Linked DNA regions of Homo sapiens: region 2 is linked to region 1. The links are contacts of gene promoters, found by promoter capture Hi-C in human tissues and cell types (Jung and others, 2019). All regions are on one chromosome and are shown on one strand. The core of a region is centred on a gene start or on the middle of the fragment in contact, and the rest is flanking DNA. Distances in the headings are between cores, read along the strand shown.

Region 1 (6,978 bases), core at 1,883-4,382:
GGGATGGGCCCAGGAGGAAACTGGCCCCCTGCTTCCAGCCCCCAACACCTCCCACCCGCTCGCTCACTTGCCCTGAGAAACCTCAGCACTCAGGGCCCTCAGCTGGGTGGGGCCAGGGGTGGGGCTTCGAGTCCCCTGAGAAAAATTGGGGAGAAAAAGGAGGTCACTCAAATTGACCTGAATGAAGAAGATCTGAAGAAAGTGTTGGGAAAAACAAACAAAAACCTAAGTTCCAGCAGGGCGCAGTGGCTCATGTCTGTAATCCCATCATTTCCGGAGGCCAAGAAGGAAGGATAGCTTGAGACCAGGAGTTTGTTTTATGTTTTTTGCTTTTTTGAGACAGAGTCTCGCGCTGTCACCCAGGCTGGAGTGCAGTGGCGCAATCTCAGCTCACTGCAACCTCCGCCTCCCAAGTTCAAGAGATTCTCGTGCCTCAGCCACCCCAGTAGCTGGGATTACAGGTGGGCACCACCACGCCCAGCTAATTTTCTTGTATTTTTAGTAGAGATGGGGTTTCACTGATCTCAAACTCCTGGCCTCAAGTGATCAGCCTGCCTCAGCCTCCCAAAATGCTGGATTACATGTGTGAGCCACCGCGCCTGGCCGAGACCAGGAGTTTGAAACCAGACTGGGCAATATAGTGAGACCTCCTCTCAAAAAGAAAAAAAAGCCTTGTAATCCCAGCACTTTGACAGGCCGAGGCAGGTGGATCACTTGAGGCTAGGATTTTGAGACCTCATCTCTAAAAAATTAGCAGGGCATGGTGGCACACCCCCATAGTCCTAGCTACTTGGGAGGCTGAGACAGGAGGATGCCTTCAGCTCTGCAAGTTGAGGCTGCATTGAGCTATGATCACACCACTGCACTCCAGCCTGGGCGACAGAGCAAGACCTTATCTCTAGAAAAAAAACACAATACAAAAACTATGATCCAAAATAATGCCCTGTGGCTGGGGTGGGGCGGCATTAATGAGGGTTTTTTTGTTTTTGTTTTGAGACAGAGTCTAGCTCTGTCATCCAGGCTGGAGTGCAGTGGCACAATCTCGGCTTACTCTGCATCCTGGGTTCAAGTGATTCTCCTGCCTCAGCCTCCCAAGTAGCTGGGATTACAGGGGCACGCCACCATGCCCGGCTAATTTTTGTATTTTTGGTAGAGACGGGGTTTCACCATGTTGGCGAGGCTGGTCTGGAACTCCTGACCTCGAGTGATCCTCCTGCCTCGGACTCCCAAAGTGCTGGGATTACCGGCGTGAGAAACTGCGCCTGGCCTAATGAGGTTTAAGACAATCAGAGGACTAGGACCCCTAGGACTCAGCTTTCGCAGCTGTGAAATGGGCTGACTCCCCAGCATCCTCATTGAGGTGGTCTGCTGAGCGCAATCCAGGCCTAAAGTGTCAACTCAATTAATGTGCATTAATTTGTATATTTCTTGATGATGTGCCGGTAAGCGATCAACAAACGCCTGTTAAACCAAACAGGAAGGGCAATTGGCACAGCGGTGTGGTGGTTACTGTGGGAAGGGAAGTCTTGTGGGGGAAAGAACCTTACCAAAGGGACACTTTGATGTCACCGATGCCCAGACCAAGAATGAGCACATTCCTAGTCCCGGGAACCTTGGAGGAGCCCCATCTCTCCCACAGAGAGATTGATGTCTAGTTTTGCCCTTTATAGAAATAAAATCACACACCATAGCCTCTCTATCGTCCCCTCAACATCAGCCAATCAAGTTTTTTGGTTTGTTTGTTTGTTTTTTTGAGACGGAGTCTCGCACTGTCACCCAGGCTGGAGTGCAGTCGCACGATCTTGGCTCACTGTAGCCTCTGCCTCCTGGGTTCAAGCGATTCTCATGCCTCAGCTTCCCAAGTGGCTGGGATTACAGGCGCGCACCACAGCGCCCAGCTAATTTTTGTATTTTTAGTAGAGACGGAGTTTCACCATGTTGGCCAGGCTGGTCTCAAACTCCTGGCCTCAGGTGATTCGCCTGCCTTGGCCTCCCAAAGTGCTGTGATTACACACGTGAGCCACATTGCCCAGCCTTTTTATTTATTTATTTATTTTGTAGGGGGGAGGACGGATTCTTGTTCTGTCTCCCAGGCTGGAGTGCAGTGGCATGATCTCGGCTCACTGCAAACTCCACCTCCCAGGTTCAAGCGATTCTCCTGCCTCAGCCTCCTGAGTAGCTGGAATTACAGGCACCCGCCACCAAACCTGGCTAATTTTTGTGTTTTTAGTAGAGATAGGGTTTCACCATGTTGACCAGGCTGATCTCGAACTCCTGACCTCCAGTGATCCGCTGGCCTCAGCCTCCCAAAGTGTTGGGATTAAAGGCATGAGCCACTGTGCCCAGCCCCAGTCGAGTTTAAAATAAGGCTTCAGTGGCAGTGGCGCCCCACTGCAATCCCAGCTACTCAGGGGGCTGAGGCAGCAGGATAGCTTGAGGCCAGGGGTTAGAGACCTGCCTGAACAACATAGCAAGACTCCCATCTCCAAAACAACAAAAAAATCTTAACAGAATATTATTATTCTGTAATACTGTAACAAAAAAAAATGAAAAGTCAGAGGTGATGTTTGGTCCCAGAAAACGCCATAGTTTTTTTGGTTTTTTAAAAATGTTTGTAGAAATGGAGGTCTGGCTATGTTGCCCAGGCTGGCCTTGAACTCCTGGCCTCAAGCTATCCTCCCGCCTCGGCATCCCCTGTTTATAATCCTCAACGTTCTGCATCCTGGTATGGTCGGGTACCCTGTGTCTGGACCGGGAAGGCCTGGAGGGTAGGGGCTGGGAACTCCGCCCCCCAATCCCTCCTTCCCAATCCCTCCTCCCCACCCCCAACCCCGCAGCCCCCGTCGCGCATGCGCAATGACTCCTCCAGGTCCGCAAGGCAGGCATCTCCCGGCCTTAGTCAAAGCCGAAGCCCAGAGAAGCGAGCGATCGGAGGATGCGAGTCTCGGCTCACGTCTGCCTCGCAGCTTTCCTCCGAGGCCTGGAAGGCGAGCTAGCCTTTGCCCTGGCAGCACCCTGCCCCAGCCCAGCCATCCCCCGCCACCACCATCCTCCCCCAGTGTCTGGGCCGAGCCCTGCGGCATCGCCAGCTCTTACCTAGCGGGCAGGGACCCTGGACTTTCGAAGGGCGGGCAGAGCCGGGAGGCAGCGAGAGGAAAGTCCCACTCGGCTCCTTCCTGTGTGGGCCCCTTGGTTTCCTGAGCCACTGTCATTTACCGAAAGTCAGGGCCCTGCGGGAGCTGGGGGCGGGGAGGCGGGCAAGGAGGGGCAGAAAGTTCCGGAAGCCTCTGCATCAGCCGCCCCGTTCAGACAGGCTGCTGGAGACCCCTAAGCCAAAGGAACTGATGATAGCACAGAGAAGGGTCTGGGTCACACCAGGGGCTCAGCCGACTCTAGACCCACTTGTTAAGTGGGGCTCTGGCCCGGCCCTTATTGCCTCAGTTTACCCATCTGTAGCATGTGTGAGTTGGGCACCCAGTGGAACTAATTTTGCACCCAGGGAAGGAAACCTGGCTGGATTTGCCCAGGAGGGAAGCAGGGAAGTTGCCCCAGAGGAAGGTCAAGTTCTTCTTTGAGGTATTTCTCCCTTAAGACTCAGGGAGACGCTGGGCGCAGTGGCTCACGCCTGTCATCCCAGCACTTTGGGAGACTGAGGCGGGCGATTACTTGAGGTCAGGAGTTTGAGACCAGCCTAGCCAACATGGCGAAACTCCGTCTCTACTAAAAATACAAAAATTAGCCAGGCGTGGTGGCCTGTAATCGCAGCACTTTGGGAGGCTGAGGCGGGCGGATCACTTGAAGTCAGGAGTTTGAGACCAGCCTGGCCAACATGATGAAACCCTGTCTCTACTAAAAACAGGAAAATTAGCCAGGCCTGGTGATGCCTGTAATCCTAGCTACTCAGGAGGCTGAGGTGGGAGGATTGCTTGAATCTAGGAGGCGGATGTTACAGTGAGACGAGATGGCGCCACTGCACTCCAGCCTGGCAACAGAGCGGGACTTCGTTTAAAAAAAAAAGAAAAGACTCAGGGAGAGATAATGACCCATTTCTGCCTGTGGTGCCCTGGGCCCAGCCCTAAAAAACCAGGTGGATCCGGCCTGGCCTCTTGGAACTTGTGATCTGGCGCTGAGACAATGAGCAAATGAAGGAGCCAAATCATCGCAGACAACAAAGAAAGCCAGGGTGTCAGGACAGGCACAGACTGGAACTTGGACCCGAGGCAGGACAGGGAGCTGGCCAGGGAAAGGGTGCTCCAGGAGGAGGGCACAGGATGGGCAAAGACCTTGAGAGGGCAGTGATCTTAGCAGCTTGAAGAGCAGTCAGGAGGCCAGGGGCAGGGGTGAGATGAGGGGGAAGGGGACTGCAGGGCGGTCAACAGGGGCAAGATCGTGGGGGGACAGGGGGATCAGGGTCTTTGGGAGAAGGGTGGGTTTTGCCTGGAGCATAATCTGGAGCCACAGGAGAGTTGGAAGTAGGAGCTGTTATAAATAGAAGAGGCAGAAGGCCCGGGCAGCATCCAAATGCAGAGACTTGGGCCAGTGTTCTTAGGATAATAGGATCAGAGCCCCGGAAGTAGAGCTTCAGGAATAGACTGACGAAGTGGTGACCGGGTACAGTGGCTCACATCTGTAATTCCAGCACTTTGGAAGGCCCAGGTGGGAAGATTGCTTGAGCCTAGGAGTTCGAGACCAGCCTGGCCAACATGGTGAAACCCCATCTCTACTAAAAATATAAAAATTAGCTGGGCGTGGTGGCATGTGCCTGTAATCCCAGCTACTTGGGAGGCTGAGGCAGGAGAATCACTGGAACCCAGGAGGCAGGCGGAGGTTGTAGTGAGCTGAGATTGTGCCACCGCACTCCAGCCTGGGCGACGGAGCAATACTCTGTCTCAAAAAAAAAAAAAGGAATAGATTTAAGAAGTTGTGGCCAAGAACAGTGGCTCACACCTGTAATCTCAGCACTTTGGGAGGCTCAGGCAGGAGGATGGCTTGAGCCCAGGTGTTCGAGACCAGCCTGGGCAACATGGTGAAACCCTGTCTCTACAAAAAATACAACAACAACAAAATAATAAGCTGGATGTGGTGGCATGTGCCTGTAGTCCCAGCTACTAGGGGAGGCTGAGGTGGGAGGATCACCTGAGCCCAGGAAGTTGAGGCTGCAGTTAGCTGTGGTCATGCCACTGCACTCCAGCCTGGGCAATGGGAGTGAGATCCCGTCTCAAAAAAAAAAAAAAAAAGACTTTTCATCTCTGTATCACCATCACAAGTCTTAACACAAAATGGTTTGGTAAGTATTTTGTTGATCTTAACTGTTCAATCAGCCAGAGGCTTATTGGACACAGCCTGTGTGCAGGGAATCGGGGACAATGCAGACCCAATCCCTGTCCAGGGGAGCTGACAGTCCAGCAGGGGAGATGGCAATAAACAAGCTATTGCCCAATAATTATATCAGTTGCCCCTGGGACCGGTCTGCTAAGAGAGATGACTGGATCTGGGAGGGCTTCCTGGAGGAGGTGGCTTTGATTCTGAAATCCAACAACAAGTGGGACTAGCCAGAGAGTGACCTGAGAATGTGGGAGTGTGGGCAGTTCTGGCAGGCAGAACAGCCCAGGCAAAGGCCTGGAGGCTTCACGAATTCACAGTGTTCCTGAGAAGAGCAGGATGTCAGGGACACGGGGGGCTGAGACTCATTTGATGGCGTGGGTAGGGCCGCGTGGGTCAAGGGAAAGAGATATAGATTATGTCCTCAGCTTAGTGGAGCTTAGTGGAGCCACAGCTGACCTGCGGCAGGAAGTGCCAAGCAGAAGCTTAGTTGTAGTGTTTTCTTTCACTTCCTGGGTGGCTTCAGCAGACGGGAATGCAACCTTATGTTCTCATCCTTGGCCTGAGGCTGAAGCCTCTGCTTTCCGGAAGTACAGTGAGTTTCTGGGTCTCTGCTACCTCCAGTGTGATGGTTTCTGCAATATTTTGAGAATAAGTAAGAGGAGATTGGGGTGAGGACCAAAGTGGTACCTTCAGCCCCAGAGAAGGGCATGTGAAGGCTCTAAAAGGAAGTTCTGGCCGGGCGCGGTGGCTCACGCCTATAATCCCAGCACTTTGGGAGGCCGAGGCGGGCGGATCGCCTGAGGTTAGGAGTTCGAGACCGGCCTTGCCAACCTGGTGAAACCCCATCTCTACTAAAAATACAAAACGCAGCTGGGTGTGGTGGCGGGCGCCTGCAGTCCCAGCTACTCAGGAGGCTGAGGCAAGAGAATCACTTGAACCTGGGAGGCGGAGGTTGCAGTGAGCCGAGATCGCACAACTGCACTCCAGCCTGGGCGACACAGCAAGACTCCGTATCAAAAAATAAATAAATAAATAAATAATTTTTTTTAAAAAAAGGAAGTTCTGGGGACAGAACCCAGAACTTGCCCGAGAAAAATGGGGCACGTCAGTGATGCAAACACCCAGATTTTTCTGCTGACAAGAAGTCCATAAATACAATCAAAGAATAAAATACAATCAAAGTGTAACTGGAAACAAAATTGAACTCATGGATAAAATATCCTCGTTATATAAGTAACATCTAGAAAGCAGTAAGAAAATGCCAACCAGTTAGGTGGATATGAATCCAGAAGTCAGAGAAAATGGAGGACAAATAGCTCTTAAACCCAGAAAAATTTCCTCAGCTTCACTTGCCAAATGAAAATTAAGAGTACAGTGAGGCAGGGCCAGGCACGGTGGCTCATGCCTGTAATCTGAGCACTTTGGGAAGTCAACATGGGAGGATCATTTGAGCTCAGGAGTTGGAGATTAGCCTGGGCAACATGGTGAGATCCGTCTCTACAAAACATACAAAAATTAGCCAGGCATGGTGGTGTGCACCTGTAGTCTCAGCTACTTGGAAGACTGAAGTGGGAGGATGGCTTGAGTCCAGGAGGCAGAGGTTGCAGGGAGCCAAGATAGTGCCACTGTACTCCAGCCTGGGCGACAGAGCGA
Region 2 (6,978 bases), core at 1,997-4,496, 360 kb after region 1:
GTGGTGGCTCACACCTGTAGTCCCAACTACTCAGGAGGCTCAGGTGAGAGGGTTGCTTGAGCCCAGGAGGCAGAGGTTGCAGTGAGGTGAGATCGCGCCACTGCAGTTCAGCCTGGGTGACAGAGTGAAACCCTGTCTCAAAAAACAAACAGGGGGTCGGGTGTGGTGGTGGCTCACGCCTGTAATCCCAGCACTTTGGGAGGCCAAGGCAGGTGGATCACCTGAGGTCAGGAGTTCGAGACCAGCCTGGCCAACATGGTGAAACTCTGTCTCTACTAAAAATACAAAAATTAGCTCGGCGTGGTGGCATGCACCTGTAATCCCAGCTACTCAGGAGGCTGAGGCAGGAGAATCGCTTGAACTCAGGAGACAGAGGTTGCAGTGAGCCGAGATCGCGCCATTGCACTCCACCCTGGGTGACAAGAGCGAGACTCCGTCTCAAAACAATAACAACAAAAAAAAAAAAAAAAAGAAAGAAAGAAAGAAAGAAAGAAAGAAAACAGAGGCCAGGCGTGGTGGCTCATGCTTGTAATCCCAGCACCTTGGGAGGCCAAGACAGGTGGATCACTTGTGGTCAGGAGTTCAAGACTAGCCTGGCCAACATGGCGAAACCCTATCTCTACTAAAAATACAAAAAAAAATTAGCTGGGCTTGGTGGTGAGCCCCTGTAATCCCAGCTACTCAGGAGGCTGAGGCAGGAGAATCGCTTGAACCCGGGAGGCAGAGGTTTCAGTGAGCCAAGATTGCACTACTGCACTCCAGCCTGGGTGACAGAGCAAAAACTCTGTCTCAAAAAACAAACAAACAAATAAACAAACATGGACTGGGCACTGATCTTTTCCACACCCTGAACTGGACACTGGGGACACAGTTGTTAACAAGATGGGCACTTCCCTTGCTAAGTGACACTCAGTGTGGGAAATAGAAAATAACGGTATAAATGTATCCTATATTGGAGAGTGACAAGGACCAAGGAGAAAAATCAAGCCAGATGAAGATGGAGAGAATTTAACTGTAGGTTTAAAAATTAAAGGAAGCTGACACTTGCCTGTACTCCCAGCTACTTGGGAAGCTGAGGCGGGAGGATTGCTTGAGCCCACGAGTTCAAATCCAGCCTGGGCAACAGAGTGAGACTCTGTCTCTTAAAACTAACAAGGCCAGGTGGGGTGGCTCATGCCTGTAATCTTAGCACTTTGAGAGGCTGAGGTGGGAGGATCGCTTGAGCCCAGGAGTTCAAGACCAGCCTGGGCAGACATAGCCCGACCCTGTCTCTACAAAAAAGAAAAAAATCAGCAGGCGTGGTGGTAGAAGCCCGTGGTCCTAGCTACTCAGGAGGCTCAGGTGGAAGAATGGTTTGAGCCTGGGAAGTCGAGGCTGCAGAGAGCCGTGATCACGTAACTGCATTCCAGCCTAGGGGACAGAGCAAGACCACCCTGTCTCAAAAAACAAACAAAAAAAGAGAATGGGGACCAAGATCCAGCTGAAACCTCATACATGGAAGAACTTGAAGATGGGGAAACTGAGGGACCAGGATTAGGTGCTTATGGGAGAACACAGGTGCTGTTTCTGCCCCGGTACACAGTGGGCACCTTACTGATAAATGCCCAGTGTGTAAGTGAATGACTCCAGTCAGGAAAGAGATAGACGAGGTTGGGGCTGCTTTTCCAAGTACGGGAATCCAACCGAGCCGGGCGGGAGCCCTCCAGCTGGGACCCACCCAGATCTGCAGCTTGATCCTCTTGTCGTTGCGATAGATGGTCTTGACCTTGAAGTCGATGCCCACGGTGCTGACGAAGGCAGGCGTGAACGAGTCGTCAGCATAGCGGAAGAGGAAGGACGTCTTGCCCACGCTGCTGTTGCCGATGATGAGAATCTTGAACATGTAGTCGAAGTTCTGATCCGAGGACTCCTTCTGCCCATAGCGCGAGTCTGTGGCGGATGCCATCTGGGGATACCGGGTGTAGCAGAGCCGTGAGGGGGGCTCTCTCCATCCTCATGTGCCCAAGCCCAGGCAGAAGATGGCAAGGGCTCCAGAAAACGGCCGGTGTATGGAGGACACCCTTATCCCATCAGGAGCCCCAGTATTAATTGGTGGTGCCCCCAGCAGAGGGCAGCCTGTGACCTTGAAATCCTGGGCGTTTCAGAGGAGGGGCTCAGAGGGTTGCCGATGGGGACACCCCAGCAGCCCCCTTCAAGGGGCAGGTGCCCCAGGTGGGGCTGTAACCCTAAACCCAGGGCTGAGCCCGGAGGGGGTGACTGCGGCTGGCTCCGCCCCCCATCAATCTTTCATGGTCCTCAGAACCCGGCCGCGCGGCCCCACGTGCACCGCGTGCATGGTCCCTCGAGGACGCGCATCTGCAGCCCCCGCTCCCCGCAAACCTCCAGGCCGGAGAGCTCCGGCCAAGGCCGCTGCATCACATGATACAGGAGGGGCATGCACACGCTCACGTGCACACAGCCTCAAACACGCTCATCCGTACATACAGGAGTGTGTGAACGCACTGAGGTGCACAGGACAAAGACACAGACACCTGTTTGCACACCGACTCGCCTATAGAAATGTGCAAACCACCCGTGCGCACAGGCCCCTCCACCCATGCAGGCGTGTGCACATCACCCACACGGACACGGATCCCCGTGCTTGTATGCACGGGCCATACCTGCACAGGCGGTCCACACGTCTTTCTCCACGCGCGTGCAACGCTCACACACTTAGGCCCAGACCCCCACGGCGTCACACGAGCATATCCAGGTACACAAGCAAGGGTGCACACAGACCCGCTGACACAGGCAGGCGCGCACACGCGTGTGCACACCACGCGCACGCGCACGCAAAAGCCTCCCGCGCGCACAGCTTCCCGCAAGGAGCTCGGCTCCCCTCCCCCTCCGCCGCAGAGCAGGGGGGTTGGGGGGGTTAGTGGTGAGGATCAGGCAGGAGTGGGGCGCCCGGGCCCTACCCATTCCCAGCCTCGCGACCGCCGCATCCTTCCCCCCATTCAACCCTAGTCAACCTCGTCCCCCACCTCCATCAGCCCATCAGTCAAATGAAGGTTATGCAGGTGCTCGGAGCCTGAGCACACCCGGCCGCCCAGGAGCTCACCTTGCCCTGCACCGATGCAACGGCGACCCTAGCGGCGGTGACTTTTTTGGCGGTGGCGGTGACAGGACCCCGGTGCGTTGATGTGGGGCTGCGCGGCGGCGGCGGCAGCAGCGGCTCAGGCCCCTGCAGTCCTCCGTGACGTCCTGCAAAGGGAGGGGCGGAGCCTCACATGTAGATAAGTCCGTGACGCCATCCGGAGGCGGAGCCGCGCGTAGAGATGTGGCCCATTGACGCACGCAGAGCCAGATGGGGCAGGGCTCCTGAGCAGATTGACGTGCAAATGGGGCGGGGCCTAGCGTGTGCATCCAGTAGGGGCGGGAGCGGCGCGGGGGCCGACTCCGCCTCTCGTCCGCCTCCTGTCCGCCTCGGGGAGGCGGGGCCCCTCAGCGTTCTCTCACTGGCTTAAGCTCTCGAGCGACGGGCGAAGTAGCCAATCAGAGATTGTCTACGCCCTCCTCTTGTCCAATGGTGGCATCTGGGAGATTGAAGGGCCGAGAGGCTGAGGCCTTGGCTGAGCCCCGGTCTTCGAGGGGCGGTTCCCTTACCCGCCCGCACCCACCCCAGGTAGGGGACTCTTGAGGCCACCGTCTAGTCCAAGGTGCTGTGACCCCTGTTAAATGCCCCTGACTCCCAATTGCAGAAAAGAAAAATCGAGGCCCAAGAGATGTTTTATACCCTCACATATATGGGGTTCAAAATAAATACCAAAGAATAAACAGGAGTCAAGAGGGACCCCTGTCCCATTCCCGAGGCGTAAGACCCCCCCACTGAGGGAGGGGCTAGTAAAGACTCCACCCCTCCCCCGTTTCTGAGGTTTGAAAAGAAAGAAGTAGAGGTCAAGAGAGCCTCCCCTCCCCACCATTCCCAGAAAAGGAGGAAGGGGCTGATGGACTCTCTGGGAACCCCCTCCCCTCCCTGCGCCCCGTCATCAAGAAGAAAATTCGAAGAAAAGGTTTAGCAGGGACAGAGAAGCGACCTGTCCCGGAAACCCCTTAAAGCCTGCGGTAAATGCCCCGGGAAACAGGGAGGGCACGAGCCGAAGCCTCCAGCTCTTCAAAGCTCGGATTCAAAGACCCGGGGGCTGGGAGACCCCCTCCCTCCATCCTGGGAAAGCAAAACTCAGAGGATGGAGCCTTTTGGGAGCTAAGATGGTCCATCTTTTATTCCTCCAAATCTTTAGGGAAGGAAGTCAGAATTTGGGGAGGGAGGAGGAGCCCGAAACCCCAGCCCCCACTTTGGGTCTCCTGCTCCCCCTACTCCAGCTTTCAAACCCTCCAGGGGTGTGTGGCCCCCAGGAGAGTCCTGATCCCCTAGATTCTCCCCCCACCCCTCCCAGTAGGCGGGGCTGGAGCGTGTGTGTGTGGCGGGGGGTGACTCGTCCTGTTTATAAAAAGCTCGCCAGCTGCGGAGGCGCCGAGAGACCAGAATAACTTAGCGCCTCGAGGCCCAGCCGCCGCCAACCCAGTCCCCAGCCCGCCCCCAGTGCCCTGGGAGTACTGGGACGCCCACCCCCACGTCCCCGCACCGTTTACATTTGGGAAATTTATTTTTTCTTTTTAGGGTAACATGTTTGCTCCCTCCTCCCCCACTCGGACTATAGAAGTATCACCAATCCACTGCAGAGAAATTGGGAAAATTCAGAAAAACAAAAAATAAAAAGAAATCCACCTCCCATTCTCCCTGCCCTCCGCGCCCACGCGGTAGTCCGTGCTCTGTGGGGGGCTCCAGGGCAGCTGGTCCAGGCCCTGGCCTGCCGCCTCCTTGGAGGGGAGGTTTTTCGGTTGCTCAGCTCCCTGATCGCCCAAAGGCACGCTTCCTACATGGGTGGCTCTCTCGGAAATACCTCCTGCCTTTTTTCCCCAGGAAGAGAAAAGTGAGCCACGAGAATGTGCGGAAGCTTCCGTCACTGACTTAGTATTTTAAAGTAAAAATAGCCGGGTGCGGAGGCTTACGCCTGTAATCCCACCACTTTGGGAGACCAAGGCGGGAGGATCGCTTGAGCCCAGGAATTGGAAACCAGCCTGAGTAACATAGGGAGGCCCCATCTCTACAAAAAATTTAAAAATTAGCTGGATGTGGTGTCGCGTGCTTGTGGACCCAAATACTCCCGAGGCTGAAGTAGGAGGATCACTTGAGCTCAGGAGGTCGAGGCTGTAGGAAACCGTATCGCGCCACTACACTCCAGCCTGGACGACAGAGTGAGACGCTGTCTCAAAAAATTAATTACTTAATTTAAATTTAAAAAGAATGCAAGCCCTTGATTGTCCAGAGCAGCATTGGGCTCTGGAATTAGAAATGGTTGAGCTGGGGGAGGGGCTGCGGGATTGGGGTATTTTCTTTGTGTCAGGGGAGACAGAGCTGGTGGGAGAACGGGCTAGGCTTCCAGGCCGGTCCCACTCAGAGGAAAGTCCAGAGGCTTCCCTGCATCCCTACCCTATCGTCTACACTAGACAAATAAAAATAAAAATGTGGCCAGGTGCGGTGGTTTATGCCTGTAATACCAGCACTTTGGGAGGCCGAGTCAGGAGGATCACTCCTTGACCTTGAGGTCAGGAGTTCGAGACCAGCCTGGCCAACATGGTGAAACCCCATCTCTGCTAAAAATACAAAAATTAGCCCGGTGTGGTGGTGCCTGTCCCAGGAGGCTGCTCAGGAGGCCCAGGCATGAGAATCGCATGAACCAGGGAGGCGGAGGTTGCAGTGAGCTGAGATCACCGGCACCACTGCACGCCAGCCTAGGTGCTAGAGGGAGACTCTGTCTCAAGAAAAAAAAAAAAAAGTATCCCAGATACGGGTCCAGGGACGACTTCTCGGGGAAGAAGACACTAACTTAAAACCCAGTGTGGGGGCCAGGTGTGGTGGCTCATGCCTGTAATCCCAGCACTTTGGGAGGCCGAGGTGGGTGGATCACCTGAGGTCAGAAGTTCAAGACCAGCGTGGTCAACATGGTGAAACCCCATTTCTACTAAATATTAGCCGGGCATGGTGGCGGTCGCCTGTAATCCCTGCTACTTGGGAGGCTGAGGCAGGAGAATCGCTTGAACCCGGGAGGCAGAGGTTGCAGTGAGCCAAGATCACGCCATTGTCCTCCAGCCTGGGCAACAAGAGCGAAACTTTGTCTAAAACAAAAATAAAAACAAAAATCTAATGGGTGAGGCTGGGGGCTGAGAGAGAAGCATTCCAGGTAGTGGGAACAGCTTGTTTGAAGGCCCTGTGGTGGGACCAGGCTTGCAGTGTGGCCAGAGCAGATGCAGTCAGTAAGAGGAGAGGGACAAATGCCTTTGGCTCAAACTGAAGGAGAACATATGAATATTCATTTATAAGAAATATGAATATTCTAGGGCTGGGTGCAGTGGCTCATGCCTGTAATCCCAGCACTTTGGGAGGCCGAGGCAGGCGGATCATGAGGTCAGGAGTTCAAGACCAGCCTGGCCAACATGGTGAAAACCCAGTCTCTACTAAAAATACAAAAATTAGCTGGGCATGGTGGTGGGCACCTGTAATCCCAGCTACTCAGGAGACTGAGGCAGGAGAATCGTTTGAACCCAGGAGGCGGAGGTTGCAGTTAGCCAAGATCACACCATTGCACTCCCGCCTGGGCGACAAGGCGAGACGCAAAGAAAGAAAGAAAGAGAAAGGGAAAAGGAAAGAAAAGAAAGACAGAGAAAGAAAGAAAAGAAAAGAAAGAAAAAAATATGAATTTTTTTTTTTTTTTTGAGACAGTCTCGCTCTGTCACCCAGGCTAGAGTGCAGTGGCTCGATCTTGGCTCACTGCAAGCTCCGCCTCCCGGGTTCAGGCCATTCTCCTGCCTCAGCCTCCCGAGTAGCTGGGACTACAGGCGCCTGCAACCACGCCCGGCTAATTTTTTGTATTTTTA

What was found. Contacts are between HindIII fragments. The study calls those that stand out against the background at their distance.
Region 2: a contact is called between the fragment with the promoter of RAB3A here and the fragment with the promoter of JAK3 in region 1, in 1 of the 25 tissues and cell types used here (spleen).

Annotation. Positions count from the first base shown.
Region 1 is chr19:17,844,850-17,851,827 of GRCh38, forward strand. JAK3 (Janus kinase 3) reads right to left here and starts at 3,133. Exons shown (of 24, transcript NM_000215.4): 1 at 3,097-3,133. The HindIII fragment of the contact is 13,300 bases long and covers 1-6,978 here.
Region 2 is chr19:18,200,796-18,207,773 of GRCh38, forward strand. It overlaps RAB3A (RAB3A, member RAS oncogene family), which reads right to left and starts at 3,247. Exons shown (of 5, transcript NM_002866.5): 1 at 3,101-3,247; 2 at 1,718-1,945. The coding sequence starts at 1,945. LOC102725254 (a long non-coding RNA gene) reads left to right here and starts at 3,935. Exons shown (of 2, transcript NR_134910.1): 1 at 3,935-4,104; 2 at 4,661-4,768. RefSeq lists enhancers at 2,489-3,271, 3,304-3,598, 3,784-3,883 and silencers at 3,264-3,653, 4,539-4,598. The HindIII fragment of the contact is 10,728 bases long and covers 1-6,978 here.